2 separate regions of the Homo sapiens genome follow, and region 1 is linked to region 2. The links are contacts of gene promoters, found by promoter capture Hi-C in human tissues and cell types (Jung and others, 2019). All regions are on one chromosome and are shown on one strand. Each heading gives the region's core, a stretch centred on a gene start or on the middle of the fragment in contact. The rest is flanking DNA. Distances are from core to core; before and after follow the strand shown. Region 1 overlaps SVOPL (SVOP like). Region 2 holds the start of SVOPL (SVOP like).

Region 1 (5,353 bases), core at 2,144-4,643, 33 kb before region 2:
CCCCGCCCTCGACCCTTCTCCCCAACTCCCGCCCTCGACCTTTCCCCCATAACCCTGACCCTTCCCCCAACCAGCCCCGCGCTCGACCCTTCCTTACCCCCACGCCCACCCTCGACCCTTCCCCCGACACTTCCCCCATCCCCGCCCTTTCCCCTGACCCCCGACACTTCCCCCCGACCCCTGCCCTCGACCCTTCCCCTCCACCCCCGACCCTTCCCCCAACCACCCCCATGCTCGACCCTTCCTACCCCCACCCCCACGCTCGACCCTCCCCCGCCCCCACTCGCCACCTCCCTAGGGTCAGCTCTTTTCTGCAGGTGCTTGTCTTTAATACATGACATGACTCCACTGTTTCTGATTTAAGCAACACACAAAGCGTTTCTTCAGCATGACTCTCACAAAACACAAGGGCCATCATAGCCCCACAATTCTTTAGTTTTCTCAATTAACAACCGCTTAGAAAACAGGGTTGGGGGGCCTGGGAGACAGTGACAATGTTGCTCATTAGCCTGGCCCTTCCGTTTAGCACAATTGTTCCCAGTAAGCTCAGGGACAGGGTCAGAGTCAGATGGGCTAAGCCAAGACAGGAGGATGGGAGGAGCCCAGAGCAGGAAACAGTCACCTTGGGAGAGTTCAGCTGCTTAGAGAGAAGTCTTCTGAGCTGTGATGGCCTAATGAGGGAGATTGTGTACCTGCTGGAAGGAGCCTCTGTAGGCACCTTAGGAAACAGCACAAATGCAGCCAATGAAATATGAGCTGTAAATATCACATTTACATGTGTGTCATGTACTATAAAAAACGGTATCACGTAATACAATTTTGTAGTGCAGGTGCAAATGCCACACCTGGATCTCCAGCATTCTCAAGGATCTAAGAGGTGCATATACACAAGCCAACTGGGGTACAGATCAGTTAGAATTAAACATAAAGTTATAGGGTCACCCTAAAGATACAAGGATTGGCAAGTAACGCTTTTCTGAAAGCCATGAGAACCAAAATGGAGTCACTTAGGCCACACCCTACCAAAATGGGATTGTAGGCAACAGAGGAGGAGCTCTCAGGCACACAAAAACTGTAATAAGGACTCTGAAAACCACAGCCTTGCACAAAGACCACTGATCGCTTGAGCCCAGGAGCTCAAGGCCAGCCTGAGCAACAGAGTGCATCACTGTCTCAAAAACAAACAAAACAAAAAACAAGAAACTGCTTCTGCAAGAACAATACCCAGCCTGTTCTACCTCGGACTGATGCCACCGTTGTTACTGATCCTTGTAGCCAAGGAAAAGTATTTCAAAATAACTTATGTAGCCTTCCTCATTTTGTCTTTAAAAAACTCTCGACTTTCCTTGCCTTCCTGGATACACCTATGGCCCGGCCACGGTTCGCCATGGCACAGGAATTCCCAGATTGCAATCACCTATCATTCCTTTCCAAATAAACTCATTTCTCTGGAGAGCTTCTCTGTTATTTTAGGTTGACACTTTCTAAAGTATTTTATATGTAGAAGAAAATAGAAAGCAATCGAGTCACTTTATTACAAGTCTAAGTAAAAACTTTGTTTTATTTCTAAAAGTTTTTCTAAAAGCATATGATCTGAGACACCAAAATAGACACCCCTTTAGCAACTAAGACGGGCCCCAAGGTTAAAGAAACAAACGTTATCTCCAGGTCAAGGGTTCAGGGTCTGGCAGACATGGCAGATTTCTGAATTCCTGTCTGAGATATCAAGCTGATTTACAACCCAGACCACTACAGTGCTGATTGGACAGAGGACCAGCCTTACAGACATTCTTTTTGGATAAGCTACTGCAGACCTCAGGTCAGTTTCAGCAGCTTATACAGAGAGTGCACAAACTGTTTGTTTTCTGTAGTTCACCTTTGACATAAAGAGCCAAATTCCACCTCATTTTAATGCTAAAACCCTGCCCCAAAGTGAACATGTGATGTATGTTACAAACGAGCTTACCTAGTCTGCATGTAGGATCCCCTCACAAACATGTATAGCTTTGCCCCCAAACCTGCCAAATATGTATGATGCCAGCCTTGTGAAACATAAAACCCAACCTGTCCTTCTCCTCTTCCAAGAGAAAGCAACTTCAATGCACACTGGAGACTGTCTCTTTCAGGCTTGCAAATCACTATTGCCAATAAAACTGTCCTTTCTATTATTTAGCCATCCTGGTGGTCTTTGGGACAACAAGTACTAGAGAGCTTTAAAAACGCAAAAAAGGAACCAGGGCTCCAAAGTTAATAAGAGGAGTTTTAATGAGGGAGATGGAACTAAGATAATATAATGGAAAAATAAAACATCTCGGGACTCCTAAACTCATTACACCAAAGAGGAGGTTAAGCCTGAAGACAGACTAATGCAACACTAGCCATCCTTGAATAGCTGTTGCTTTACAATCTTATGTCAAAGTATTATCCATCAGCCAGACCCCCCATGGAAAATTCTTTGCTGGTCTTGAAACCCTTCAAGATGCATATCCTCCTATAAAGCAAGGACATGTCCATTGTAACTTAGGTTTTCTATCTAAGTCTAGCTTCTACAACTAACATCTGTTAGATTTCACACTGATAATGTTGATTGCAAGCTCATCTTCCCAAGTGATGAGACTCATTCTTCCCAGAAGATGAGACCATTCTTCCACCTGCCCTGAGACATCTGCATAATTGATGCTTCCTTTACTCTCCCTTTTTTCTTCCAATGTTCACCTCATTTTATATAAAATGTAGATTTACTGGGCACTAATTAAAATCTCACAGACATGTAACCATTTGCCTCATTGGCTGGCTACCCACCTCTTCCTACATGCTTTCTTTCCTTTAAAAGAGAGTATAAATCCTGAGTCACCCGGAAACCTCTGCTTCAAGCCACAGATGTTTCCATAGCTGGTGTTCTTGAAACTGACACTGCAAAATTGTAACTGAGTCAGTGAAAGAGATCTGACCTAACCAACTCCATCTTGCTTCTAACCTCCAAACTGTCCTTGGTCATTCCTGGGTGTAGGCTGAACTAGCTTTGGGAGTAACTTACTTTATAGTTTAAAACAAAGATGATAACCGCCCTTTCCCAAAACCAACCTCCTTCTTGGCTAGGACTAGACTGCCTTTGTAGGACTAACAAATTAGCCACAAGATTAGAAATTGTGGTTTAGGAGTCACGCAGCTGGAGGTTACAAGATTCTGACCCTCCCTAAACTGTTCCTGAGATCAGTGCTTGAGATATTTTGCAGATGGTGCTCTTGATGGATCAGCTGGTACCACCCAGACCAATAAACTGGTTCATCTGATCTTGTGGCACCCACTCAGGAACTCACTCAGCGCAAGAGGAAAGCGTCAATTCCCTACTATTTCATCTCTAACCCACCTAATCAGCACTCTCGACTCACTGACCTTCCCCCACCCACCAAGTTGTCCTTAAAAACTCTGCTCCCCAAATGCTCAGGGAGACTGATTTGAATAACAATAAAACTCCAGTTGCCCACACAGCCAGCTCTGTGGGAATTACTCCTTCTCTATTGCAATTCCCCTGTCTTGAGAAATCAGCTCTGTCTAGTCAGCGGGCAAGGTGAACCCGCTGGGCTGTTACATTCTTCCCAGTCACACCCTCAAGCTCTAGCTCAATAAACCTCAGATGACTGAGATTTTTGCCTCAATATCTCATTTGGGTTAGCAAAAATCAGGGCAGATTTTTAGATGTGCTGCTGTGATTGGGCATACAACTGGAATCCAAACTTCCCAGCCTCCAAGACACAGAAAGAAACACAACTGGGCAATACCATGCATTATCTGAGAGAAGAACTCCAACCAGTTCCTCAAGTGAGGGAATTTTCCCTGGTGCCACCCCCAAAGATTAAAATTCACAGGTAAGATTTGGTTAACACAGTGAGTGACAGGGACATCCCCTTCCCCTGCCACCTTCCGGGGCTACTCCTTTGAGCACAGCCTTGTCAGTCTGGGGAGCAGGAGGAATTCTTCTGGAATTCTCCACCACCAGTTTCAGACTAGCTCTCACTGTCTTACAGAATTTGACCTCAAGGCCTCTGCCACCTGACTGCCATCCTCCACCCATCAGTCTACCTACCTCCCAGACACTCTCTTTAGTGAGGATTTTGAGCACCTGGGCTCACAGTTCTTCTATTAAGTCGTTGGGGCCCAGAAAGCGATACAACAAAGACTGGCCTTTTGACATGTGGAGAGGATAGAGGCAGCTGCATCAGAATCAAGGTCCCTCTAACCTTGTCTTGCTCCTTCGCCCTCAAGCACAGGGAAGGGCTCTCTGCAGTTTCCTTATCTGACCAAGAAAGCTTTGTTCCAAAAGGAATGCAACTGGGCCAGGTGTGGTAACTCAGTTTGTGATCCCAACACTTTGAGAGGCCTAGGCAGGAGGATTGCTTGAGGCCAGGAGTAGAGACTAGCCTCTTCAAATTAGCCAGGTGTGGTGACCCACATCCTAGCTACTCAGGAAGCTAAGGCAAGAGGATTATTTGAGCCCAGGAGTTCAAAGCTGCGGTGAGCTATGATCGCACCACCACACTCCAGCCCGGGCAAAAGAGGGAGACTCTGTTTCAACAAAACAACAACAATGACAACAAAAAAAAAGGGAACGCAATTATCTTAAACCTGCTCCCTAGGGATCATGTCAAATTACAAAGATCAGCCACCAGAAAAGAGAAGAGGCTGGGGGTATCACATTGCTCCAGACTTTTCACCTAGTCCTCTGAGGGCAGCTCCCAGAGATCACCTGGATAACAGAACAACCTTTGTTCCTGTGCAACTCCACCCCTCACCTTCCTGTAATGCGTGCCTCACTCCTCCCTGGTTCATTCATTCTCACTTATGACTTATTGCCCATCTAAAGAATCTTTGCCCACTGGCATCCTCCACTGTGTAAAAGGCTATATACGTTTCTGTCCCAAGCTGGGTTATTGGTAATCACTCTTGTGATTCCTTCCTGCTATGCCCATCAAAATAAAATTTTGTATGCCTTTTTTCCCCATGAATCTACCTTCTGTCAGTTGATTTTTTTAGTAAACCTTTGGAAGGTGAAGGGAAGTTTTCCCTTGGCACTTACAAAGTCCTGTCTTCATTAAAACCAGCTTCAATACCCAAGTAAATCAACCTTTCTCTCCCCACCTGCTGGTTCTTTGACCTCCTTGGCTGATGTTACTTCCTAAATATGTCCCAGAACACACACCCTCACTCTACCACTTATACCACAGCCCCTTTGAAACCATCTTTGCAAAAATTATAATAGAAAAAATTATGACAGTGAAAGAGATCTGCCCTAACCAAATCCATTTTGGCTTTAACTTCCAAACTGCCCTTGGTCATTCCTGGGCATGGGTCA
Region 2 (5,425 bases), core at 778-3,277:
AAAGTATCTAAAGAGTTACCAAATACATATATGTCTCCAAAAGGCATTTATTGCTAATATTCTGCTAATATTAGAACACACTGGGATCAAATAAAAAATTACCCAAAGAGGGGAGGAAAAAGTCACTTGTTTTCTAAACTAGGTTGATTTTATTTCATGGGTAAACTTGAGTGGTGTTGGGAAATTGTGACCTCAGTGTGCTACTTTCCTACTGGAAAATAAGACCTCAAAACCTCTCCAAACTAGTCACTTCATCTTACTTATGAGAGGCACGACAAAATGGATACTTTTCACCAAAATTCTCCTGTGTTCTACATTGCAAAATCAATATATTTTAGAGGAAGAAGAAGCTTTCAAACTTCAGTTCTTCCAAAGGCATAGTTGGTGCAGGGGGTGGGGTGAGGGTGGAAAAAAAGGGCTGGTGGTGAGGTGTGGCTCCGAGGAGCAAGTCAGCCCTCGCCCCGCCACCGGAACAGCGTTCAGTGCCCGTCACTTGTAACACTGGTCTTCCCAATGCATAGCCCTTGAAGATAATCAGGGCCGGGTGGGTCCCCGGTGTCAGGGGAATTTGCCAAGAGGGGGAAGAAACAAACGTACAGGTTTACCTGCAACAGAGAAAGTCCTCATTCCCACCCTATTAGGATACAGAGTTTTCAACAACAGGATTCCTTTGGTGGAGCAAGTTGCAGGGCACAGGGCTGTTGGCAGGAGATTATCAGGATTGTAGCGTTCACATCTGTACCTTGGAAAGGGGCTTACTCTCCAAGTCATTAAAAGGACACTCAAACACAAACTCAAAGTTAGTTAGCATATATATGAAATGTATTTTCTTGGTAGTCTCTAGAGTTTCAGCCAAAAGCTACATGAAGAAAGAAGAGAACAACATGTTTGAGAGATGGAGATGAGGAACATTATTGAGAGATAGAGCTTGCAATCTTAACTCAGCAATGGAATGCTGGAAAGGCTGAATTGACATACTCTGTTCTTTGGTTCCGTATGTCTTTTTTTTTTTTTTTTTTTTTGAGACAGAGTCTTACTCTGTTGCCCAGGCTGGAGTGCCGTGGTGTGATCTTGGCTCACTGCAACCTCTGCCTCCCGGGTTCAAGCGATTCTTCTGCCTCAGCCTCCTGAGTACCTGGGATTACAGGCACCCACCACCATGCATGGCTAATTTTTTTGTATTTTTAGTAGAGACGGGGTTTCACCATCTTGGTCAGGCTGGTCTTGAACTCCTGACCTTGTGATCCACCCACCTCAGCCTCCCAAAGTGCTGGGATTACAGGCGTGAGCCACCGCACCCGGCTGGTTTCCTGTGTCATTCTAAATCCTTTCTAACCCAGTAAGAGGATGGATGGATGGATGGATGGATGGATGGATGGATGGCAGATGGATGATCAGTTAGACCAACTCAGGAAAATAGGGAATAACATGGAAAAGAATGCTTCGCGTCCCTCACTATAAGTTCCTAAAAAGCTACAATGGGAAAGTAATCCATGACCTACCTTCACAAAACCTGGTGAGAAACTGATAGATTGGGGATTTTCCCTGAACTCAGATGGAGTTCAAGCTTCATTAAAACAAATTCTAAAGGACTGATTGACATTTTATTCTATTGTATTTTGTTATACTGATTGTTTTTTAACCAGAAATAATTGGGCCACAGTAGATCTTTTTTAAACTGAGTTTTGTGTGTGATGTGTGATGTAATTTGTTTTGCAATATCCAAGGAAATTTTCATGCTCCATTTGCCTTCGGCCACAAACTAACAGTCAATGCCCCACCCCACCCTCTACAGCAGCAGGAAAAAATAAGTCCAGATCAATGTTGCCCACAAATTTCTCACCTCTGTATATTCCTTGGACAGTCTTCCAATTTCAGGCTCTTTTGCTCCCCTCACCGTGGCCAAGTCTTAGACGGAAATTGGAGCACAGATGGCTTCTCAGGGGTGGCCAGACTTGTGTTCCCAAGACGCCTGGCTCCCTGGTCTTATCCTCTCCTTTCAGGTCGGGTCTCAGATCAGGATTCTTTAAGGGCCAACTTCGCATTCTGGGCAAGTGAATGACACCTAGGGCACACCCTCTTCTCAGCAGCCTGCACTTGATCTCCTTTTAAAGGGGAAATTACATTTCTTGTTAAGACTGAAAGAGGCTGCCGAACTTTGGAGGAAATTACTATGTTGTTCTCAGGACAGCTGGAAGAATTTCTGAAAGAGAAGACCTAGGCAAGGGGCAGAGGGAAGCTTTGCCCTTGCAAACATTTGCTCACAGCCATTGCTTAGAATTAAGGAGCAGGTTCATGCCCATCCTGTCAGCCATATCCTGCAGGGTGGCAGGCATGCTGTAGCCCCTGGTATAGGCCATGGTGCCTGCCACCCTGAAGCTGCCTGTGCTGTACAAGAGCAGCCTTTGCTATGCCAGGAGTCACTGAGTGGCCAGGCCATGAGCCTGTCTTGGGTCAACTCTGTGGGCCTCAATGTCCCTGCTTCTGTTCGTTATTCCCATACAGACATCAATGTGCCTGACTTCCCTGATTACTGTTGCATTGAGATTTTTGATGGGACAAAGTCTTCAAAAGAGGATGGCGAGGCTAGGAAAGGGTTCTCCTATTTGGTAACTGCAACAACTGCTGTGGGTGTCACATATGCTGCCAAGAATGTCATCTCCCAGTTTGTTTCCAGCATCAGTGCTTCTGCTGATGAGTCGGCCGTGTCGAAAATTGCAATCAAGTTATTTGATATTCCAGAAGGCAAGAACATGGCTTTCAAATGGAGAGGCAAATCCCTGTTTGTATGCCACAGAACCAAGAAGGAAATTGACCAAGAACCTGCAGTTGAAGAGTCCCAGCTGAGGGCCCATAGCATGATTTAAGGGCCAGGCACAGTGGCTCATGCCTGTAATTCCAGCACTTTGGAAGGCCGAGGTGGGCAGATCACTTGAGGTCAGGAGCTCAAGACCAGCCTGGCCAACATGGCGAAACCCCATCTCTACTAAAAATACAAAATTAGCCAGGCGTGGTGGCATGTGCCTGTAATCCCAGCTACTCGGGAGGCTGAGGCAGGAAAATCACTTGAACCTGGGAGGCAGAGGTTGCAGTGAGCCGAGATTGCACCATTGCACTCCAGCCTGGGCAACACAGTGAGAATCTGTCTCAAAAAAAAAAAAAAAAAAGAAGAAGAAGAAGAAGTAAAGGATGGGCCGGGAGTGGTGGCTCACACCTGTAATCCAAGCACTTTGGGAGGCCAAGGCGGGTGAATCACTTGAGGTCAGGAGTTCAAGACCAGCCTGGCAAACATGGTGAAACTCCGTCTCTACTAAAAATACAAAAATTAGTCAGGCGTGGTGGTCCATGCCTGTAATCCCAGCTACTCGGGAGAATGAGGCAGGAGAAGTGCTTGAACCTGGGAGGCGGAGGTTGCAGTGAGCCAAGATCGCGCCACTGCACACTCCAGCCTGGGAGAGAGAGTGAGACTCTGTCTGAAAAAAAAAAAAAAAAGATAAAAAAGGAGTAAAGAATGAGTGCAATGCCTATCAGGGTAACCCATTCGAGTTTCTTTACTAGGCGTTTGCATTCATCCTGTTGTACACCTATTGCAAATGAAGATTTTGGTGGTGATTACTGCCCTTGCTGGGGGTCACACAGATGCATCTGGGAGGATCTGGAAGGGGCCTGCCCCTCTTGAGCTTGGAGCTCCCTCATATGGGTTCACCAGTGAGGACACAGTCATTGTTGGTTAGAGACTGGGACTCAAGTTGTAGGCTCCTTTCAGTCTTTGCGTCACTGTAGAAGAGTTATTTGAGAGCAAGCCTTCTGAACTTCAAGTTGCTTGATTTGAAATATTTAAGAAGTGATAATGTATTTGCAAACATTACTGTGAAGTAAATTGAATTTAATGTTGAATACGTTCAAGCATTCACTTAATAAAACAACTGTTAAACACTGTTACACTGTCATACACTTGAAAGGTGCAATGTCTTTTAGGTAGTTCTAATTTTTTACTTTAAAAAAATTTTTTGTTTTTATTTTTTTGAGATGGTGTCTCGCTCTGTCTCCCAGGCTGAAGTGCAGTGGCGTGATCTCGGCTTACTGCAACCTCCGCCTCCCGGGTTCAAGTGATTCTCCTGCCTCAGCCTCCTGAGTAGCTGGGATTACAGGCATACACCACCATGCCTGGCTAATTTTCATACGTTCAGTAGATGAGGAGTTTCACCAGTTGGCCAGGCTGGTCCCAAAATCCTGGCCTCAAGCAATTCACCCACCTCGACCTCCCAAAGTGCTGGGATTACAGGCGTGAGCCACCATGCCTGGCCTAATTCTAATTTAAAACTACACAGTGGTATATAAAAATTAAAAAAAAAATAGACTTAAGGATCAACAGGCTGGTGATCCATTTAAGCACAGGGTTCTTTTTAGATAGTTGTTGAGAAGGACATTTGTGAGCTGAGAACCTGAAAATCGTCCAGTGGCCATGGCAGCATGGGATTGGTAGATTTCTTATCCCTCCATTTGCATGCTGTCTTAGTCTATTCTCCCAGTTCAACCATCACTGACAGTATCTCCTCCACACCCAGGGCTTTACAACCACCTTTTCTACAGTCCAGAGAGGTGGAGATCATTATTTCCATTCGGCAATGAGGGGAACAACTCCATTTCTTTCCTGAGGGCACTCATGATAAAGCATCAAAGTTGGGACTCAAACATGTACACCTTCTGACCTTAGCTATCATTCTTTTGCTCAATCTCATTAAGTGAATATTGAGCATCTAATATGTGCCTTCCACTGTGCTGGAAAAGTCATGATACTGACATGGAAGGTGACACAGAAGCTTCCTTTTAGGTTTGAGCAATGCCGCTTCCATGAGCACCAATCAGCTTTACCACACACAGGGCACGTAGGCACTTAAAAAACAGGGTCTCATCCAAAGCATATTTTGAATTTAATCAGCTCTTTTAGAACTTTACTAACAATGAAAATTTAGAACTGGCCAGATGCGGTGGCTCACACCTGTAATCCCAGCACTTTGGGAGGCCAAGGCGGGCGGATCACTTGAGGCCAGGATTTCGAGACACCAGCCTGGCCAACACAGTGAAACCACGTCTCTACTAGAAGTACAAAAATTAGCCATGCATGGTGGCGGTTGCCTGTAATCCCAGCTACTCAGGAGGCTGAGGCTGGAGATTGCTTGAACCTGGGAGGCCGGAGGTCACAGCGAGCTAAGATTGCACCACTAAACTCCAGCAAGTCCCTGAGACAGAGTGAGGCCCTGTCTCAAAAAAAAAAAAAAAAAAGAAGAAGAAAGAAAAAGAAAATTTAAAATTAAATAAGATACTATTATTTTGTAAATTTTAAAAGCACTAAAAAAAAAAAAAGATAATTATACTTAATTCTATCAGTATAGTTACCATGAAGATAATAACCTACATGGAT

The links. The method cuts DNA at HindIII sites, captures the fragments that hold promoters and counts their contacts. A contact is called where the count stands out against the background at its distance.
Region 1: a contact is called between a fragment that was not itself captured here and the fragment with the promoter of SVOPL in region 2, in 1 of the 25 tissues and cell types used here (spleen).

What each region holds. Positions count from the first base shown.
Region 1 is chr7:138,664,835-138,670,187 of GRCh38, forward strand. The region is part of intron 4 of SVOPL (SVOP like); the gene reads right to left. Among named protein-coding and RNA genes, the nearest start is that of SVOPL, 34 kb to the right of the region's middle. RefSeq lists an enhancer at 3,165-3,746. The HindIII fragment of the contact is 8,522 bases long and covers 1-5,353 here.
Region 2 is chr7:138,699,335-138,704,759 of GRCh38, forward strand. It overlaps SVOPL (SVOP like), which reads right to left and starts at 2,028. Exons shown (of 16, transcript NM_001139456.2): 1 at 1,844-2,028. It also overlaps the pseudogene UQCRFS1P2. The HindIII fragment of the contact is 2,573 bases long and covers 959-3,531 here.